Linked DNA regions of Homo sapiens: all the other regions are linked to region 4. Evidence: promoter capture Hi-C in 16 types of primary human blood cells and fetal thymus (Javierre and others, 2016). All regions are on one chromosome and are shown on one strand. Each heading gives the region's core, a stretch centred on a gene start or on the middle of the fragment in contact. The rest is flanking DNA. Distances are from core to core; before and after follow the strand shown.

Region 1 (2,862 bases), core at 311-2,810, 300 kb before region 4:
AAAACTGCAGTTCCCCAGCTTTGTGGTACTCCACGGACCAGCCTCCTTGCTGCATTTTCATAGAATCTCTTCCTTATAAAAGTAATCACTCTCGGATAAACCTTACTACAGTTTAAAAATGCTTCCCTCTTCTCTTTACAGCTACCTGCCACTTCAATGTGCCACATTTTTCCCCCCACTTTCACGTTAAGCTTAATGCTATTCCCTAGATCTGAGTGAACTTCAGTTAGAAGAAGAAAACTAAAAATCCAGAAACTGGTGATAATCAAGTTTTCCCTTTTTATGTTTCTTAATTTTATTCTCTTCAACAGCTTTTCTTTTTCTCTGCTAAGATTTAAACAGTGAGGGCTGATAATAAAACTAATTGTTAAGCCAGTGTCCTACTTACAAGGGTGGAGACGGGACAGAAGCTAACTCACTGCTACTGGGTTTTGTTTGTTGTTTCCTGTCCCTTGCTCTATTTCTGTCCTCTTCCAGAACAAAAGTATGCTCAAGTTCTATCCTAAATGTGTGCTCTTGGCTGGGTATTAGTGGCTCATGCCTGTAATCCCAGCACTTTGGGAGGCTGAGGTGGGTGGATTCCTTGAGCCCAGGAGTTCAAGACCAGCCTGGGCAACATGGTGAAACCCTGCCTCTACAAAAAATACAAAAATTAGCCAGGCCTAGTGGCACATGCCTGTAATCCCAGCTACTTGGGAGGCTGAGGTGGGAGGATCACTTGAGCTGAGATCATGCCACTGCACTCCAGCCTAGGCAACAGAGTGAGACTCTGTCTAAAAAACAAACCAAAAAAAGTGTGTTCTTTAAAGTAGAATATTTGCTTTTTACAATATAGTTCTCAGAATGATCCAGTTCCATTTATTATTCTAGAATGTGGTGCAAACTCAATGACATTGGAAGAGACTCTTTTTGTTGGGCAGTGTAGGAACAAGAAAAGAAAATAAAAATGCCATGAGTATATTATTTAAGGAACTTTTGTTTTATCCAAAAGTAGTCATGATTGCTGTAGCATAGGCTGTGAAAAATGAGAGAGTGCAAATCTCTCTCATTTAAATGTCCACAGTGGCTTTAGTCTCCCAAGTACAAGGGCCAGATGGCAGAGAACAGCTTAAACTGAGCCTTCAGCCTCATTAATAGGAGGAAGTCTTGGTACTTTTGGTGACTAAGAAACTGGATTATTTAAAACCTTAATTATCTCCTTTACTCCTGGTTTACAGAAGGCAATAAATATACAACTCCTTTAGATCCCTCTAACTCCTGCTGAATTTTCTTTCTTTTTTTCTAAGTCTGCATCCTATCTCTTGATTCCATTGCCTGAAGAAGCTGTGTGAAATTAGTCTGGTTATTGGTTTTCTTGTCTGATAGTGGCATCTTGATCTCTTCAGATGTCACACTAAATGCTGCTCATAACCCATCCTCCTCTTCTTTATTCATCACTGCCTTCTTCAAGGGAGGTCTTGAAACTGCCTCATCTACCTCATGATCTGCTAGTCGAGATAGTGACTCTTTGGAAGTTGGTAGTCCAATGTCTGCTTCCCCGCATTAACCACATTGCGTAGGTTTGGGAATTTTGCAGGTGCTAAATCATCATGGCCAGGAAGATGAAACACCTTGAGAAATGGGAACATCTCTTCACTGTGTTCTTGGATCAGCCTTCTTTCAACTACCAAGAAATGGATGATTTCTCTGCCAACTCCAGGAAGTAGTACAGCATGATTGAATCCTTCTTCAGTGAATCTTTTCATTGTAACTTAGGGTGTAAAAGCTCATATCTACTCAAAAAACTCAAATCTACTCTTTCAGTAGATATGAGCTTACATTGACTTATGAATGGTTTTCCTGTAGGCCCAACAGTGTCATGACCCTCCAGTTGAAACAAAGCATGAGTTATTTTTATATCGAGTCCTTGAACTGCTAGCCAGGTAGATGTTTCCTTGAAGTCCAGAGCAGGATCCAAGTCAGATGAAGGAGGTGGCACACCTGGCTTAACTGCAGATCAGGGAGCATTGAACCTCTACAATTTGCTGCATTGGATTTCTGCATGGGTTTCTCACTGAATAGTAAATTAGAGAAAATGCTACTTTTACTATTTTGCATTTTATATCAACATTAGCAGCCTGTTCCCACTCAGGTGCTGTCCAAGGCACATGTTTCCTTGGGATGTTTGGACAGAATGATCTGGCTTGATGTATTTCTTGGGCTCTGGTACCACATCATAGAGTTGGTTAAATGTAGCCAGCAGCAGTGTCAAGACAGCTGACACTGTCTTCCAAGAGTGAATGCATTGGCCTTTGGAACTGCTGCTAAAGCCATGTGTGGGGTGGCGAGCACATCTTTAGGTGGCAGCAAGGCTATATCTGATTGACACAGATCTGAAGTCTCTAACACCATATTGCTGTTGTCCTGAATTTTCTAACTTGGAGAAATTTAAGGATCTCCTGCATTATCTAGGCAGAGCATATGTTGAGGTTGTTTTGCCAGTTGTTATCAGTGTTGAAGAACTGCTCCTGTAAGCAAACTGTTAAAAGCATTACTACCCCATATGCATCTGATGTACACTGTGTTTTGGTGTTTGTGTTTTTAGTGAGAGTTCTAGCCAGTACTGTGCCTGAACTTGGGAGAGAAAGGGGCCTGTGGCTGAGGTTGGTGCGTGCTCTATTTCTGTGTATCGAATGGACTACAAGGTTACTGAAACTGGGCTAAGGGAAAGTGTATAGACAACTCATTACACTGTAGACAGATTTTAGAAAGCTACAGGAAGGCAAATGGATGTTTCTGCCTCAATTTGGCAACCGAGAGAGTGATGCAGAGCAGAGTCATTGAAGTTGGCATACCTGTCTTCTGCAGGCCAATTCAAGTTTG
Region 2 (2,976 bases), core at 154-2,653, 350 kb before region 4:
TAAGTTCTTTTTTTGAGACAGGGTCTCACCTTGTCACCCAGGCTGGGGTGCAGTGACATGAAAATGGCTCAATGCAGCCTCCACCTCCTGGGCCCAAGCAATCCTACCGCCTCCGCCTCCCAAAGTGCTGGGACTACAGGCATGCACCACTATGCCTGCCTGAAGTTCTTATTTTTAATTAATGTTCCTTTTTGTTCTTCCTTTCAAGCTCTCCCATGTCATATTGGCTCAAATTGTTCCAAAGACCCCCCAAATCAGAGTTCCTCAAGCCTGTGTTTATGTAGACTGACTTGGTATGAATTACAGAAAGAAAATCAAAGGCTAAGATAGTGACAGTATTAAAGTTCAATGTGATCAACATTAAGGCGAGGGGATAGAAAAGTTGGAGAGGGACTGCCAATGCTCGTTACCTGGTCAGAAGACTGTCCCATGGAAGCTTCATGACTGTATGCTGTTCATTTTTCTCTAAGATGCAGTCACATAGGATGGGATCCAATCTCACAAGACTAAAGGGAAAGAAGAGGCAATGAAGAAATCCTAGACTTGTCCCTTCTGACCTGAAGGCTAATTCAGGATTCATCTCTCGTACGGCCTTTATAGACATTCAGGATATGAATCAATTATGGGCCCACAGTCCAAAAGGCAATGTACCTTATGGGTGGGAGATACACGAATGCTTTCCTAGGAAAAGCAGGAGGTGGAAGGGAAAGTGAGATGGGATAAATTTGAAGATCAGGAGCCTTTGCTACTAACTAAGCATGTGACCACAGCTTTCTAAGCTTAGCATCAAAATTGGCTAGTGAGGAAGAAAGAAAGGAAGTGGGGATCTTTAAAATGAAGGTGTTGGCCAGGTGCAGTGGCTCACGCCTGTAATCCCAGCACTTTGGGAGGCTGAGGCGGGAGGATCACCTGAGGTCAAAAGTTCAAGACCAGCCTGGCCAACATGGTAAAACCCCATCTCTACTAAAAATAGGGCCGGGCGCAGTGGCCCACGCCTGTAATCCCAGCACTTTGGGACGCCGAGATGGGTGGATCACTTGAGGTCAGGAGTTCAAGACTAGCCTGGCCAACATGGTGAAACCCCGTCTCTACTAAAAATACAAAAATTAGCCGGGCATGGTGGCGCATCCCTGTAATTCCAGCTACTTGGGAGGCTGAGGCAGGAGAATCGCTTGAACCTGGGAGGCAGAGGTTGCAGTGAGCACAGATTGTACCATTGCACTCCAGCCTGGGCAACAAGAGCAAAACTCTGTCTCAAAAATAAAAATAAAACATAAAATAAAATGAAGGTATTAGATTAGGCTGGTATGTCTCAACTTTTTTATCATGATGATGTTTTTTTAAAGTGAAAAAAAAATTTTTTTTTGAGATGGGGTTTCACTGTATCACCCAGGTTGCAGTGCAGTGGCATCATCATTGCTCACTGCAGCCTCAACCTCTTGGGCTCAAGCGATCCTCCCACCTCAACCTCCCAAGTGGCTGAGACTACAGGCATGCCCTACCATGCCCGGCTAATTTTTGTATTTTTTGTAGCGACAGGGTTTCATCATGCTGCTCAGGTGGGTCTCAAACCCCTGGCCTCAAGCAATCCTCCCACCTCAACCTACAAAAATGTTGGGATTACAGACATAAGCCACAGTGTCCGGCCATTAAAGTAAAAAACAATTAATGGAACTCTCTTCATCTGGTAGTTTACCATCTGTATCTCCTTTTAAGAAAATAATACCATAATGGGTACAAATATACAGTTAGATAGAAGAAATAAGTTTAGTCTTTGAGAGCAGAGTAAGGTGACTGTAGTTAACAACAATGTATTGTGTATGTCAAAATAGCTAGAAAAGAGGACTTACAGTGTTCCCGACACATAGAAATGGTAAATACTCAAGGTGATGATACCCCAAATACCCTGCCTTGATCGTTATACACTCTGTGCATGTAACAAAATACCATGCACCCCATAAATATGTACAAATATCTATCAATAAAAATAAATACCTAAAGCTATGATGACTTCAGTAAATTCTTTGTAAGCTTGCATTTTATTCCTCACAATAGCCAATTAAAGATGATTCATGGGTATTTGTGAGAGAATATTTACTTAGTCGGTAGTCAATGTTGATCGTATACATGGATCTGAACACCCCAGACAATAACTGAGTGTCCACAGCCCATGGTTTGGAAACCACTGATCTTAATTACCTCTAAGATGCTATGGTTTTCTATTCTCCCTCCCAGACATCCTCCCCAAATGTGTCTATGTCTGATAAAGACAAAGACCCAATAAGACAGATCTGGTGCTTCTCATGCACTCACTTTTTGTTGTCTGCATCAACCAGGTCATTTTTCTTGGCGTAGTTAATGACGATCGTTCGGACCTCACTGCCCTCCAGAAAGCTCCCCTTCCTAGGTGAGGAGAAGTGACCCAGGGGTTAGTTCATGCTGTGCCATGAGACAAAAATGCAGATGCCCAGACTCACTCCCTGCTGAGCAGGGAACTTTCCTTAGCTTTCGGCCTCTAGTTTCTTCCCTTTTCCTGACTGAAGTGAGCATGACCATGTGAAGAATAATTACACGCAGAAAAGGGTGAGACCTACTCGTTCATTTAGTCCAGAGGAACTTGCCCAGGGAAGAAGGCTGGAAGCTGGATTTTGGAGAAGGGGAGAACAGGGGCAGAGCAGGTTTTGCCAGTCGCAAAAGAGCACTACTCAGGTTGAGAGGAACTGTAGGCCAGAACACCAAGCAGGCAGAGAAGGGCTGCTCTCCAAAAACTCACTTGTGGCCAGACTCCTGGAAGAGCAGGGTCATGCTGGCTGGGACACAGTAGAGGGGTTTTATATCTGGAGGGTGATAGGGCTGTTCCCTGCTACCCTCCTGGATAGTCTGGGAGGTCGGGGAGGGCTCGGGTATGACGAAAGATGTAATCCTAAAACCCAGCAGAAGGAAAGAAAAAACACATTTTATACTAGCATCTCAGCA
Region 3 (2,700 bases), core at 116-2,615, 330 kb before region 4:
GCACACCCATTATTTCAAGCAGCCATTCACTTGATACACTGTTTCCTGTCAACCCCCACATCTTCACCACCTGTTTGTTTGTTTGAGCACCAATAAGCAGCCATGGACGCCCAGAAATCGGGGCCTTGGCAGCCTCCACACTCACGATGGTCCCCTGGTCCCACTTTCTCTCTCAAACTGTCTTTTTCTCATTCTTTTGACTCTGCTGGACTTCGTCGCCCCCACGACCTGGTGTTGGGTCTGATCACCCCAACAACATTCTGGAAAAGGCAAAACTATGGAGATAGTAAAGAGATCCGTGGGGGAGGGAAAGATGAACAGGTAGAGCACAGAGGATTTTAGGGCAGTGAAATGCTTCTGTATGACACTACAGTAGTGGGTACATGTCATTATACATTTGTCCAGACCCACAGAATGTACGACACCTAATGAACCATAATGTAAACTATGAACTTGCAGTGATAATGATATGTCAATATAGGCTCATTGATTATAATACGCAAATAAATAAGCCTTGATTCATAACTCACAGCCTATTCACATACAAACTCAAAACAGATTGTAGACCTGAATAGAAAACAAACCATAAAACTTCTAAAAGAAAACATACGAGAACACCTTTGTGACCTTGTGTTACACAAAGATTTTTTAGATATGACACAGTAAACATGACCCATTAAAATAAATAATAACAATTTGGACTTCATAAAAATGAATAAATTTTGCTCTTCAAAAGACAGGTTAAGATCTTGAAAATTCCAGCCAGGCACAGTGGCTCACGCCTGTAATCCCAGCACTTTGAGAGGCCAAGGCAGGCGGATCACTTGAGGTCAGTAGTTTGAGACCAGCCTGGCCCATACAGTCAAACCCTGTTTCTACTAAAAATACAAAAATTAGTTGGGTGTGGTAGCAAGTGCCTGTAATCCCAGCTACTTGGGAGGCTGAGGCACAAGAATCACCTGAACCCAGGAGACAGAGGTTACAGTGAGCCGAGATGGCACCACTGCACTGCAACCTGAGCGACAGAGCCAGACTCCATCTCAAAAAAAAAAAATCTGGAAAATTGCAAAATAAGTAAATTTTAAGTGTTCTCATCATAAAAAAGTATGTGAAGTAATACATATGTTAATCAGTTCAATTTAGCCATTTCACAATTTATATGTTTAAAAACAATATGTTGTAGATGATAAATGTACATTTAAAAAATACAAAAAAAATACAATTTTTATTTGTCAAATAAATAATATTTTGGCGATGCATGGTGGCTCATGCCTAAAATCCCAGCACTTTAGAAGGCTGAGGTAGGAAGATCACTTGAGCCTGGGAGTTTAAGACCAGCCCAGTCAACATAGCCAGACCTTGTCTCTACTAAAAATAATTTTTTTTAAATTAGTCAGTTGTGGCCGGTCGCGGTGGCTCACACCTGTAATCCCAGCACTTTGGGAGGCCGAGGCACGTGGATCGCCTGAGGTCAGCAGTTTGAGACCAGCCTGGCCAACATGGTGAAACCCTGTCTCTGCTAAAAATACAAAAACTAGCCAGGTGTAGTGGCGGGCGCCTGTAATCCCAGCTACTCGGGAGGCTGAGGCAGGAGAATTGCTTGAACCTGGGAGGTGGAGGTTGCAGTGAGCCGAGATAGCACCACTGCACTCCAGCCTGAGCAAAAGAGCGAGACTCCATCTCAAAAAAAAAAAAAAAAATTAGTCAATTGCATAGAAACAAGCGGATCCAGGAAAAAAAAAAAAACAATTAGTTGAGTGTGGTGATGTGTGCCTGTACAAGTCCTAGCTACATAGGAGGCAGAGGCAGGAGGCTTGCTTGAGCCTAGGAGTTTGAGGTTGCAGTAACTATGATTGCACCACTGTACTCCAGCCTGGGTGACAGAGCTAGACCCCATCTTTAAAAAAAAAAAAGTGTGTGTATATAAGTGTGTGTGTATATATATGACATATATGTGTGTGTGTATGTGTATATATATGACATATGTGTATATATGTATATATATGTATTTATATACACATATGTGTGTGTATATATATATATGACATGTTAAGAAAATGAAAAGATTAGCCATGGACTGGGTAAAAAGATTTATATCTGTAATATATAAAAACCTGTCAAAACTTAATAATAAGGAAACAACCCAATAAAAATTGGACAAAAGATTTGAACAGGAACTTCACCAAAGAAACTAGATGAATGACAATTAGGCACATGAAAAGATTATCAACATCATTAATCATTAGGAAAATGCAAATTAAACACAATGAAATATCATACACATTTATTAGAATGGTTGAAACAAAACCAAAGGCCAGGCATGGTGGCTCATGCCTATAATCTCAGCACTTTGAGAGGCTGAGATGGGCAGATCACTTGAGGTCAGGAGTTTGAGACCAGCCTGGCCAACATGGGAAACCCTGTCTCTACTAAAAATATATATATATTAAAAAAACAACAAAAAAAGCAGGGTGTGGTGGCGGGTGCCTGTAATCCCAGCTACTCGGGAGGCTGAGGCAGAAGAATCCCTTGAACCCAGGAGGCAGAGGTTGTAGTGAGCCAAGATCGTGCCATTGCACTCCAGCCTGGGTGACAGTGAGACTCCGTTTCAAAAAAAAAAAAAAAAATTGACAATGTTAAGTTGTGGCAAGGATGTGGAGCAACTGGAACTCTTAGGCATTGCTGGTGGGAATGCAAAAT
Region 4 (2,700 bases), core at 81-2,580:
GGCGGGACAAGGATGGAGAGAGAATTCCAGATCTGGCTCTGGGAAGACCTATGTCCAGGCACCAGACAGCTGCCTTCTACCTAAACCCCTGAAATTGGCATCTCCTCTCCAGATGTTAAAGGATCTATAATTCCCCTAGTGAAGGGGGAAAGTGATGGCACAAAATAGGAGCAGCTTCAATGGCCCCAGGCACTGTGGCAATTGCACAAAGGGAACTGGGGGTCAGGGATGGAGCTTGACCCGCTGCTGCCCTTGTGCCGGACGGTCCCACTGCTGGCTTGGGCTGCTGTCAGGATGGGCAAAGGGAGGGGAAGCCCATGTCTGAGATCTGCTGGCTGCAGAGCCAGGAGGAACAGCAGGAGTTGATCATGCTGCCTGTGGGGCTCAGCTCCACCTCACTCAGTGATCCCGTGAGGACCTCTTTTTTTCTACCTCTAGGAAGGGCAGGATGATGCGATGACACACATTTATGTCTCCCATGGCAGGAATCTGCTAGAGCAAAGCGAGGTGGAATTGCAAAGGATTTCAGAGGTTCTTGGAAGCCCAGAAAAAAGGAGCTGAACATGCCTTTGCCAGAAAGCCACAAGTGGGAAACCTCAAAGAATGGAAGAGGACTTGCTAGGTGCCATACTTTATGCGCACTATCTAATTCCAGGTCTGTTGGTGTTCAATAAATCCTTGATTAATTAAACTAAACTGAAAAATATGAAACAATTCCTATTTCATTCTAGAGGTTACAAAGCTATTTCACCTGTGTTTTCTCATTTGAACCCACATTGACCCTGAATGATAGGTGTTATTTCTATCTTTGTTTTACAGATTAAGAAACTGAGGATCAGAGAGGTTAGGTGGCTTGTCTAAGGCCACACAGTTAATCAACTATGAGGAGTTAGGAAATCCAGGCACAGACCAAGCTGAAAGAGTAGAATTACATATGCTGACCACAGAGGTCCCTTCCCACCTGCTGATATTTCTCAGAAAAGGATGGGGGGCTTCCACACACGTGCATCCCTACTCGTCCCACTGCGATATGCACGCTTACTCCCCAGCCACACACAGTCACACAGTCTGCCTCCTTGTCCTTGTCACCCCACTATCTAGGAGACTGGGAGTTGGGAATGGAGGGGGTTACCTGAGCCATCGTCCCGAGCCCTTTCCAGATAGCATCCCGTCTGGGGATCCCAGAGCAGTAACACTTACTTTTAGCCACTTCCTTCTCTCCCGTTGATCTGACTTCAGGGACACAGCCTGCTGGCCAGTTGGTAACCCCTGCCTCTCTAGGAGCTACTGGCAGGGCACTGGACGCTGCTGCCAAAACTGAAACTCTGCTCAGTGTTTGACCCACACCTGGGCTCTTAAAGGGCCACTCTCCCACAGGCACCGTGGCCAGCCAGGGTCATGTGACTCTCACAGATCCCTTGCTTTCCTTTCATTTTGGCCTTCCTGGCTGGCTCCATTTGGTTTCCTTTGACCTTGGGGAGACTCTGTTACTTGGGAATCCTCCATCGTTGCAGCTTCAGGATGAGGGACAGAATGTCAAGCGTGAAGATGCTGTTCTGTCGCTTTCTAGCTGCAAGACCTTTGGCAAGTCACCTTCCTATTTCTTTTCATCTGGAAAAGAGGGATGGTAATACCAAATCTACAGGTAGAGGATATAGCCCGGTATTAGCTCTAAAATACCTGGCCCAATGCTTGATTTGAAGTTGACATCATCTGATGGGGCACAGGTGGCAGGAGTGGCTGTCGTAGTCCTTGGTCTCATATCCCCAGTTGCTCTGGAATCCCCTCCGACTCCCTAGGTTACTTAGCCTGGACAAAAATGCCCCTTATACACCTCCTGCCAAGCCCCTTTTACCAGTCCCAGAGCTCCAGGAACTGGCAGGACTGTGGCCCTTCCTGTTTCACTCCCCAGAGTCATGAAAGACTCGCTGCTTCTGGGCTCCCCTGAACATGGCTGACCTCAGAGTCTTGTTAGGACCCGGGCTCGGCTCCATAGCAAGGACGGTGCTGACCTGCTGAGCTGAAGTAGCACCTCCTTCCCTATCTGTTAGTCCATGCCAAAACATGACCTGGTTGGGACTCCCAGGTGTTCCCCAAATGATCGTGGCAGTCCTGTGACAAAAGTGAAGCCCACTCCCCAACACACACGTGTATGGCCCCCCGACCCCTCACTGCAAACCCCCACAGAAATGCTGCCCATCCTACCTGTGCAGGGCTGACCCAGGCTCTCCCTACAGAGTCCTATAGGCCAAACACCAGAAGGGGAAGGAAAAATAGAGAAATAGAGCCCTGGAGAAACACAAGGCAGCCAGAGCCCTGGGTCTTATTTTAGCTAACCACTGGCTCACTTGTGGGTGTTAACACACAATCACAGATTTCAATGGCAAGCAAAAAAACCCCATAATTTCTTTATGTAGCTTAATTTCTCTCTTTTTTTGTGGTTTGCAAACTTAGATTTTCTTTTTTTATTTTGTTTTAGGTTCCAGGATTACATGTGCAGAACGTGCAGGTTTGTGACACAGGTAAACGTGTGCCATGATGGTTTCCTGCACCCGTCAACCCACCACCTAGGTATTAAGCCCCACATGCATTAGCTATTAGTTCTAATGCTCTCCCTCCCCCCACCCCCCCCAACAGGCCCGGATGTGTAATGTTCCCCTCCCTGTGTCCGTGTGTTCTCATTGTTCAGCTCCCATTTAT
Region 5 (2,987 bases), core at 52-2,551, 470 kb after region 4:
TATTCAGTAGGCACATATGGCTAGTGGCTATTGTATTAGGTAGTACAGATCTAGAACACTTCATTGTTGTAGAAAGTTCTATTAAACAGTGTGTTCTAGCTGACCTCGACTCAATCTGACTCCTCCTATGCACCTGCTATCATTTCCTTTTATCATCTAGCTCCCATTCCTGTATTTCCCCAAACACCAAAAACACATTGCTGCTGGACATGTTTTTTAAAAAGCATTTTTAAAGGTTTAGCAATAGCAGAAGATTATTGCCAAAAGAAAGCAGAAAAACAAGTTAAAAACAAATAGTAGGTGTCAATGTTGCACAAATTTGCTAACCTGCACTGACCTAGTGTATACATCCAACCAACTAGTTAACCAGTTGGGCCTCAGTTCAGCAACTGATAGGTAAGATAATCATTATTTTTTATCCAACCATTACCTGACTTGGAATAACTATCATGCTCTTTTCTTCTAATTAAAAACATCATATAATATGTAGAATATAAAGGTAAAAATTCAGAGCAGCGAGGCAGGCGGATCACGAGGTCAGGAGTTTGAGACCAGCCTGGCCAATATGGTGAAACCCTGTCTCTACTAAAAACACAAAAATAGCCGGGCGTGGTGGTGGGCGCCTGTAATCCCAGCTACTCAGGAGGCTGAGGTGGGAGAACTGCTTGAACCTGGGAGGCGGAGTTTGTATTGAACCAGAGATCGCGCCATTGCACTCCAACCTGGGCGACCGAGTGAGACTCTGACTCAAAAAAAAAAAAAAAAAAAAATTCCGGAGCAGGTATTCTCATGCAATTAGGAGATGTTTATTGTCACTACAGAAACAACCTTTCACTGCTCCCTGGCCTACTACAACCTTGTTGATCTTTTTGCTGCCTCTCTTTCCTGATCATGTGCTCCAGCATTCTATCTTTCAGGCCATCAACGTAAAAACTAAAAACTCTTGTTATTCTGTCACACTGAATAATTTGGCTCCTGATTTTTTGAAACCTCTCCCTATCTAGACTGGCCTGTGGCCTTGCCTCCCAGAGCAAAAGAACTTCCTTCATCAAGCTTCCCTAAACAAAAGAGCAGTTTTTCCCCAAGAAGAATTTTGCTATTCTGTCATTCTTTTAAAATGCTGAAGTAGCCACTAGAAAATTTGGTTTTATAAATGACTTTTTCTTGTTTCATGCTGCTTTTTTTTTACTTCTCAATGTTTCATAAGTATTTTATTATTTTTGTAAAGGCATGTAATAATATTCCATAGATATACCCTACTTTACTTAACTATCTCTTATGGTTGGGTACGTTTGCAGTGAGCTATGATCGCACCATCACACTCCAGCATGGGCAACAGAGCAAATCCTATTGGCTTTACTGTTGAAACATGGTAGTAATGATCCACATGAAGATACCTAAATAACTTTGTTACAAACCCTACCTACTTAGCATACAGTGGGCAAAGCTGATTAATCTCATATTTAGAAGTTGTATGAACAAGCGCAACATTGCACCTCCTACAACTGTGAGTAAAATAAATGTCGTTCTCATCTTTGCATCTGCCTATAAAGCTTATTTTAATAGAAATGAAGATAACATAAAGACTATATGGTTTACTGACTGATTCTGAATCAGAGAACTTGGAGAAAGAAAATTATATGATCAAGACTTTAAATTCTCAATTCAAGCTTGAATAAAGAACAAGAAATTTTTTGAAGGCCCCCCCAAAATTATCTCACGTAGTCAACGAGTAAACATTTCTTAAAAGAAAAACAAAACAAAAAAAAGAACTAAAGTTATATCCTGTGGGTGACAGACTTACAATGAGAAATGTTTATTTTGAAGAGGCTTTAATGAACTTCCCAAAGAAGTTACCTTGGAGGGGAATGCTGATCCTCATCAAGACCCACCTCCAGCAGCTCTCATTGGTTCTAGATCTATAATTATTTTTAAGTTCTCTCAGCTCCCCAGGCTTGATTTTATGTGTGACCTGGGAGGAAGTATTATATACATGGAAAGAATTTCCAGATTTCTCTTATTTATGTCTGTAGAAATCCAGGGAATATAAATGGGAGTGGATCTTAAACATGTTAGACCAGAGTGAAAGAAATATGTCATATATATATTTTTACCAGGTGAGTGCTAGCATTAGTGCATTTTCAGCATGAGAGCACTAACAAAAGATTCTGGGTTTGATGCATTAGCTTAGACAACTGGGAGTGGCTCTAAAAATCTGCTCCACTGGTTGACTAAAACCTAAACTCAAAGGTGACCTATGCTGAATAGACTGGAGAATGTCAGAGCTTTCTAAGTATATTGTAGAGGAAGGTATCTAACCATAAAGGAAATTTCTGCTTCCAGCAAAGGTGGAAAAGAGGAACTGGGTTTATCCTCCCGCCTACATAACAAAAAAATAGATGACATATAGGAAACAATTATTTGAAAGACATTGGACATCAGATAATGAAGGACTGGGATCCCTGTGAGATGGGAAACAAATGATGTAAGACTTATGATTGCCCTACTTTACTGTCTTGAAAGAATCTCCAGACTGCTGCACAGGGAAGGGGAATGAAAGTGGAGGGCAGTGAACTACCTAAGTTGAGACAATACTGAGAGTATGGGGAGATCAAGGAAGCTAGGAAGGTAAAGTTCACAGGACAGAGACATAGAAGAGAACTGCAGAAAAAGAGAACTTTGGAGATCTGCAAAAGGTGCTCTTGAGTATTTAGCTGAATACCATTCAATGCATTCATGTGAGAAAAATATTCATGGTTAGAGAAAAGGATTACTTGTGACAGTGCTTGCCATTCACAAAAGGGCAGTGGTATGGTTTGAATATGTGTCCCTTCCAAATCTCATGTTGAAATGTAGTCTCTAGCGTTGGAGATGGGGTCTGGTGGGAGGTATTTGGGTCATGGAGGAGTATCCCTCATGTATAGCTTATCCTATTCCCTTGGTGATGAATGAGTTCTTGTGAGATCTGGTTTTGTAAGAGTTTGTGG
Region 6 (3,023 bases), core at 151-2,650, 310 kb before region 4:
AAAAAAGTAAGTTTCACTGGTTCTCTCCAGTGATTTTTAAAAAATATTTTCCAATTCTGTGATGCACATGTCACAGTAGGCATTATGGCACATTTTGCTGTACAGAAATGTCAATGAAACTTGTCCAAACTTAACATAACCTACTAACAGCTATTTTATCACAAAATTCCAGGTAAATGTGGCCACGGGGATGTTTTCTTAATCTGTGCATTTGAAACTTTGATCACATTGTGAATGTCCCAGTGGGTTTTTAAGATCCTGGAATAGTTGCATCTTTTTTACTGTTGTTTATTTCCTTAGTCAATGTATTAGAACTTGCAGGTACCTTATTTTGCAGATGTCTTGGAATTGGCTTCAAAGGACAGACATGCATCTTATATGACTTTTGGCTAATTCATGGTGGGTAAATCTGACTTTAACTGCATGGAGAATGATAATGGTGATTTTAAACTACTCTTGAATGAGGCTTTGGAGGGGAAGAAAGGGCATGAATGATGTGGAAGCTGCTTGGGAGCTGGAGGGGACAGGGCAGCGCTCAGCAGGGGTGTGGAGGCTCCTGCCAGATCCCTTATGGGACGTTAACCCCATCATACAGGGGATCTTTGAAGAAACATTGGGTCACTAAGGTCAGAGATTTATGAAGCTCCAGCACCCTCGAGGAGTCCTCTTTCCCTTGACCATGGGAACAATAGGCGAAAGACAAAGGCGGCCTCTGTATTTCCCACCTTAGGAGCAAGAAAGGGAGCAGGAACCCTTCCACTTGGCTCTGGAAGATGTGTCTTAAGCACAGACTGCGGATGCAATCCTCTCACGAGCAGTGATTCAGAATGAGGTAAGAAATCATGTGGGGGCAAGTCTCATTCAACTGTTTAGGGAGGGCAGTAAAGTGGTCTGAGGTGTCTACATAAGTACTGAGAACGGGGATTATTTAATAGAATTTTGCAATCTTAGAGCTGGAAGGGACTTCAACAGTAACCTCGTCCAATCTTTGCGTTGCCATGGAACTCTTTCTTCAAACAAAAGCTTCGTAAGAGCCCAAATACAAACCCCTGTGAAAGCAGAATTGCTCTGGTTGCAAAGTGGGGGAAGGGAGAGACAAAAAGAAAAAGTTTATTTATAAAATAAACTTTAAAAAATCATCATGGAAGAAAACTTTTTTATTTATATGTATATCATAGAAAGGCTAAAGTAACATTGATCACAAAAAATAAAATTCCCCAAACCAATAGATTATTAGTTTATACAGTGAAGATACTTTGGCTCTTTAGGGACATTTTTACTTGGAGTCACGAGAACAGAGAATATGACTTTTAGTCACACGGAAATGAGCCTTGGATGGGAATTTTTAAGATTTATGGGAACTGTGTGCTATGCTGATTTGGGACAATAAGCGTTCTAGTCCCACCAGGTGGCGCCCGCGTTCGGCATTCTGAGAACGTTTGGTGTCTTCTGGACTCCAGAATCTGGACGGTCCGACCGCCTCGTGCTTGGTGGGTTTACAAACTCTGACTGGTTCTTACCACCCATCTAACAGGAAATTTTTTTTTTTTAAAAACAAACCAACCCATAAAACATCTGACCAGATGCCACACTCAAGAAAACACTTGTATTCGGGTGTTTTAACCTCCAACGATGGAAATCTGCTTAACATTGGTGTTTCTGAGGTGTCTTAGCATCAGAAAAGGAAAAAGACACATATACACACATTCTAAGGAAAAAGTCAGGAAGGGCCTTGCAGAGGTAGGTCCTGGTGCGGCAAGAGGACGGTTAGGCGTTAGAAGCTTCTAGTTCAGGCTTTGCCGCTTCATGCTCATGAGGAAGCGCGGCTCCTTTGGCCTCAGTTTCCTGCGCTGCCTTCCCGTCTGTGGCTGACTGTTGCAGGGTAGTCAGACAAAGGCCCAGCTTCTATTCTGCATCCCAGCTAAGTCTGTAAAAGACGAAAGTCGTCGGGTACCTCCGTTACTGAGATCAAATGTTCATAAATGGAAGCATCGTGTCAATAAATGGGTTTATTATTATTGCTTTCTTATGTAACTCACCAACCCCCGGAGGGCCGTCCCCGCGGTGGGAAAGCCTAAAACAATACACATATGTTTTCACTAATTTAAAATTCATATTGAAGCGGGACGTTTTAGAACTTCCAGGACGCAACGTGCTATTAAGGGACCGTGAGGGGCGGGCAGCCCTTCTGAGATCGCGGGCTAACTGCTACTTTCACCCCTCCTTCTCCGGACCCCTCTCTCCGTCTACAGCTCGCGCCAGGGACCCAAACAGCCTAGGCCGCGAGCTCCTCGCCTCCAACCTCCCGCCTCCCGCGCCAGTACTAGCACCCGCTAGGAGCGCCGCGTGGCCTTTACCGGCCACGGGCCCCGCCCCTGTGCGTCAGCCCGTAGCTGCGCCGAGGCGTTTCCCGGGGGCGTGCCGCGGTTGCTAGGCGACCAGACCGCTCCCCCTCCCGCCCCTGGAGCTGCGTCTCCCCACTTCCCAGCCGGGGCCAGTCGGGAGCGAAAGTGCGCTGAGCTGCAGTGTCTGGTCGAGAGTACCCGTGGGAGCGTCGCGCCGCGGAGGCAGCCGTCCCGGCGTAGGTGGCGTGGCCGACCGGACCCCCAACTGGCGCCTCTCCCCGCGCGGGGTCCCGAGCTAGGAGATGGGAGGCACAGCTCGTGGGCCTGGGCGGAAGGATGCGGGGCCGCCTGGGGCCGGGCTCCCGCCCCAGCAGCGGAGGTAACGGCGCCACGGGGTAACGGGCTGGAGGCGCCACAGGGAGCGGCTGGCGCTGGCAAGCGAAGCTTGGGGGTGGGGAGGAGGTAGAGTGAGCCCTCAGTAGGAGGGACGAGGGCAGGGGTCTGACTGCCTCCCCGGGACCGCCCCCACCTCCTCTCTATCAGGGCCCCCTCCCCCCATCCCTGTCTCACCGGGCGCGGGGGACGGGGCTAGAGCGGAGTTAGAGCAAGAAGAATTTCCACCCCTGGATTCCCTCTGAAACCCTAGATCGGGGTATATGTTAAGGGATTACGAAAATC
Region 7 (3,051 bases), core at 14-2,513, 490 kb before region 4:
CAGGGAAATCCTCCCTCTGTTGATAGCATCGCAAACCTGGTGGCAATCTGTGCGTGGACAGGACCCTCCCAAATTTAGCATTATGACTTCACCACAGGATCAAGAGAAGATGAATTGTGGGGGAGAAGGGGCTTTCTTTGTCATCAGTAGCCAGAGGGGCCAGGAGAGCAGTGGAGAGACCTGGGACCGGCTTGGATGCTCTGAGCGGGGCTAGAGGCGCTACGACAGTGTGTGGCGGTGTCCTGCCACGACGCCGCCGTCTCCAGAGCCACCACACAGTTGACTGTCCTTACCCGGCAGTGCTCAGGACCTCAGCCGATAAACCACAACCTGGACTTGCCGCCTCCTTCTCCAGGAGGCCGCCCCAGCACGGCCTCCCCAGGAAGCAGCATGGGGTAGAAGGCAGATGCCTCGAATCCAGGTGTCCCCTAGCCACGCTTTCCTGAGGAGCTGAGGAGCCCGCAGAACTCAGCGGATTATTTATTTTTATTTAAACGACCCTTCAAAGGCCCTTAGGTTTCCTTGCCTCTGCTCACAGAACTAGTCCAGCCAGGTGTCGCTGCTGCCTCAGAGCTGTGTGGGGTCGCGTGTATGTCGGGGGGCCATCTTGCCGATTTAACGCTGCTTTTTGTGTTGTTGTTGTTTTCCCTCCTCCCTGCCTGCCTGCCCCTTCTCCCCCAGCGAGGACGGTGTCGTGGAGAGGTCCAGCCCCAAGTCTGAGATTGAGGTCATTTCTGAGCCACCTGAAGAAAAGGTGACAGCCAGAGCGGGGGCCAGCTGTCCCAGTGGGGGTCATGTAGCCGATATTTATCTTGCAAACATCAACAAGTAAGCTCTGCTTTTCATTTTCTGCTCCCCTGAATGACTTGCAACACCCAGCCTCACCCTCTGGCCTAACCCCCATCTCCATTCCTGTGCTGCACGTAGGGCTCCCAGCTCCCCCAGCCTAACAGTTTGCATGTGGTCATTGCTGCTGCAAGGCGGACAGGGCTGAGGATGCTGCTACAAGCCTCGGGGCAGGTCCAGGTCTCCAGCTAGCTGCCCTCGTGCTGTGGAAGGGTGCTTTACTGTGTGTTCCCGCAGTGTCTGTCCACCCAGACCTTTGTGGCAGTCTTACAGCTAAAACTTTGACCAAAGCTTTGGTCACTTTATGCAACCTGGTTTTGTACTGTTTCTCAGAGGTGCCTTCTTTTTTCCAATCCATACTCAAATAATAGTCTTTGATGTCTGTCTTCCTTGACCCGTGTTCGTGCAAAGATTCAGAGTCTGTGTGTGGCTTCTACTAGGCTGATGTTACACCAGGTGGGTTTATTGAGATATCATGTGTCTGTTCCTCCCCCTGTCCTGCATTCACTCCTGTGGAGGAAAGGAGGCCACGATGTCCCTAAGGAAAGCTTTGTCCTGAGCTCTTCATTCATTGGCTAACCCCTAGCTCCCTTTTCTTCTGCCCTTTCACACCAGGAGAAATAATTTTCCATTTTGTTCCTATTGCTTTGGCCTTTTGTATTATTCTACCCCCTTAGTCCCTTTGCAGATCCCCACTCCTGCTCAGCAGGCTCTTACCTCTGACCCCCAGCTTTCATTGTGGCTGTTAGCAACATCCTGGGGTTTAAACTCCACCCACGCCCGATCTGGCTGTCTAGAGGGATTCTACGCCTGCGTGCTGCCGCCTCCCCAAGAGGCATTCAGGTTATTGGAGAACTAATCTCATCTCAAGGGGCCAGACACCAAGTCCCAAAGCCTACAGACCTCTTTCCGCCAGGCCCTGAAACCTGGCCCCGTGCCAGCAGGATGACAAGCCCCAGGGCGCTCCTGATGAATATGGATTGGAGATGATGTACAGTTTTTATTCCCCTCTGGCTTTTGAGGAATGAAATGATTTGCACTTTGAAAACCTGTTAACCGTAGCCTCTGGACACTGAGACTGGAAGGAGAATAAAGGATGCTTGTTGTTTTTAAACTATACCAGGTTTCCCAGATCTCTTGGCTTTTTTCCACCCAGACGGTAGCAGGGGGAGTGGTTGGGGCACGTGGCTCTTTTCCATCTCTTTCACCCTCAAGTTAGTAAAGTCGTTTATTCAGATCACTTACTCAGTGTAGTTATAATTTAATTCAGACCAGTTAAAAAAAAATTGAGAAGTTTCTGTTTCCCTCCAGCACACTGCCCTGCTGGGAGGGCAAGCCAATATCAAGTAACTGTGGGCTAATCACATTTTTTTCCTTATTTACAATTCTGTGTTAAATTGTAACCCTACAATCAAAAGGTCGTGATCCTATAATTAACTCAGAAACCAAGGCGGGGTTGGTGGAGGAAGAGTTAGATAATTAGTTAAGTACATATTTTTAAGCCATCATATATTTGATGCCATTTGTGCATAGAAATTGTAGAGAGTAATAACTGAAATGGTAAACAGAAGAAGAAAAAAAAAGAGTATCTGTAGACAGTTAAGGTGGTTCCCTTGAACTCCTTGTTTGCTGGTGTCAGGAGTCTTGGGATGGGGTTCTTGGAGGACAAGCCTCATCACCTGGTGGGTGGGTGAGCGGTGGCCCCGGGGCATGTCTGGCCCTTAGAAGTGAGTCGGCCTTTGAGTCTTACCTCCTGCCCCCCACGCCACTCCTCCTCCCAAATTCCTTGAGTTTCCCGAGTGCCCAGGTTCTCTTTCGCCCCTGGGCGCTCACGCCTGCTGTCTCCTCACCTGGTCACCTCCTCATCTCCCTTCAAGACTCAGTCCGAAGACTTAGCTCTTTGGGGAAGCCATTCTGACATCCCTGACTTCCCCAGGCTGAGTGAGGTGCCCTTATGCTGCATTCCAAAGACACTTTGAATACCTTTTGGTACTCACGCTTCACTCAGATCCCCCACCAGATTGAGCTCCTTGAACCCAGGAACTATATCTTCCTTTTCTTTACATCCCCAGGGCCTAGCCTGGGACATGGCACACCACAGCCACCCCATAAATCTGTCTTCTCAGCAGTTTCAGCCCATGAGTCAGCTATCCTCAAGCAGAAAAAGGAAATCAGCAAAGAGCTATTAGGGTGTGGCACTTCCAT

The links. Contacts are between HindIII fragments. The CHiCAGO score rates a contact against its expected background, and 5 or more counts as called.
Region 1: a contact is called between a fragment that was not itself captured here and the fragment with the promoter of PIGR in region 4, in 9 of 17 cell types (non-activated CD4 T cells, naive B cells, activated CD4 T cells and 6 more). The highest score is 8.4, in non-activated CD4 T cells.
Region 2: a fragment that was not itself captured here is called in contact with the fragment with the promoter of PIGR in region 4 in 1 of 17 cell types (non-activated CD4 T cells); the score reaches 6.0 in non-activated CD4 T cells.
Region 3: a contact is called between a fragment that was not itself captured here and the fragment with the promoter of PIGR in region 4, in 1 of 17 cell types (activated CD4 T cells). The highest score is 6.3, in activated CD4 T cells.
Region 5: a contact is called between a fragment that was not itself captured here and the fragment with the promoter of PIGR in region 4, in 2 of 17 cell types (endothelial precursors and naive CD4 T cells). The highest score is 6.4, in endothelial precursors.
Region 6: a contact is called between a fragment that was not itself captured here and the fragment with the promoter of PIGR in region 4, in 12 of 17 cell types (non-activated CD4 T cells, total CD8 T cells, M2 macrophages and 9 more). The highest score is 9.7, in non-activated CD4 T cells.
Region 7: a fragment that was not itself captured here is called in contact with the fragment with the promoter of PIGR in region 4 in 4 of 17 cell types (activated CD4 T cells, non-activated CD4 T cells, naive CD4 T cells and 1 more); the score reaches 10.2 in activated CD4 T cells.

The regions. Positions count from the first base shown.
Region 1 is chr1:206,649,766-206,652,627 of GRCh38, forward strand. DYRK3 (dual specificity tyrosine phosphorylation regulated kinase 3) reads left to right here. Exons shown (of 3, transcript NM_003582.4): 3 at 1-2,862. Among named protein-coding and RNA genes, the nearest start is that of DYRK3-AS1, 16 kb to the left of the region's middle. The HindIII fragment of the contact is 2,743 bases long and covers 190-2,862 here.
Region 2 is chr1:206,596,690-206,599,665 of GRCh38, forward strand. It overlaps EIF2D (eukaryotic translation initiation factor 2D), which reads right to left. Exons shown (of 15, transcript NM_006893.3): 10 at 2,774-2,923; 11 at 2,314-2,403; 12 at 411-506. Among named protein-coding and RNA genes, the nearest start is that of EIF2D, 14 kb to the right of the region's middle. The HindIII fragment of the contact is 1,252 bases long and covers 778-2,029 here.
Region 3 is chr1:206,616,629-206,619,328 of GRCh38, forward strand. No RefSeq gene overlaps it. Among named protein-coding and RNA genes, the nearest start is that of EIF2D, 5.5 kb to the left of the region's middle. The HindIII fragment of the contact is 5,781 bases long and covers 1-2,700 here.
Region 4 is chr1:206,945,136-206,947,835 of GRCh38, forward strand. It overlaps PIGR (polymeric immunoglobulin receptor), which reads right to left and starts at 1,331. Exons shown (of 11, transcript NM_002644.4): 1 at 1,201-1,331. The HindIII fragment of the contact is 20,587 bases long and covers 1-2,700 here.
Region 5 is chr1:207,416,217-207,419,203 of GRCh38, forward strand. It overlaps LOC105372880 (a long non-coding RNA gene), which reads left to right and starts at 129. Exons shown (of 3, transcript XR_922484.2): 1 at 129-396. LOC124904498 (a long non-coding RNA gene) reads right to left here and starts at 18. Exons shown (of 2, transcript XR_007066848.1): 1 at 1-18. The HindIII fragment of the contact is 500 bases long and covers 1,052-1,551 here.
Region 6 is chr1:206,633,057-206,636,079 of GRCh38, forward strand. DYRK3 (dual specificity tyrosine phosphorylation regulated kinase 3) reads left to right here and starts at 2,480. Exons shown (of 3, transcript NM_003582.4): 1 at 2,480-2,724. The coding sequence starts at 2,648. It overlaps DYRK3-AS1 (DYRK3 antisense RNA 1), which reads right to left and starts at 2,612. Exons shown (of 2, transcript NR_183645.1): 1 at 2,544-2,612; 2 at 1,140-1,927. RefSeq lists silencers at 2,340-2,759, 2,810-2,919. The HindIII fragment of the contact is 758 bases long and covers 1,022-1,779 here.
Region 7 is chr1:206,454,197-206,457,247 of GRCh38, forward strand. SRGAP2 (SLIT-ROBO Rho GTPase activating protein 2) reads left to right here. Exons shown (of 23, transcript NM_015326.5): 21 at 682-828. Among named protein-coding and RNA genes, the nearest start is that of IKBKE, 15 kb to the right of the region's middle. RefSeq lists an enhancer at 481-1,152. The HindIII fragment of the contact is 257 bases long and covers 1,136-1,392 here.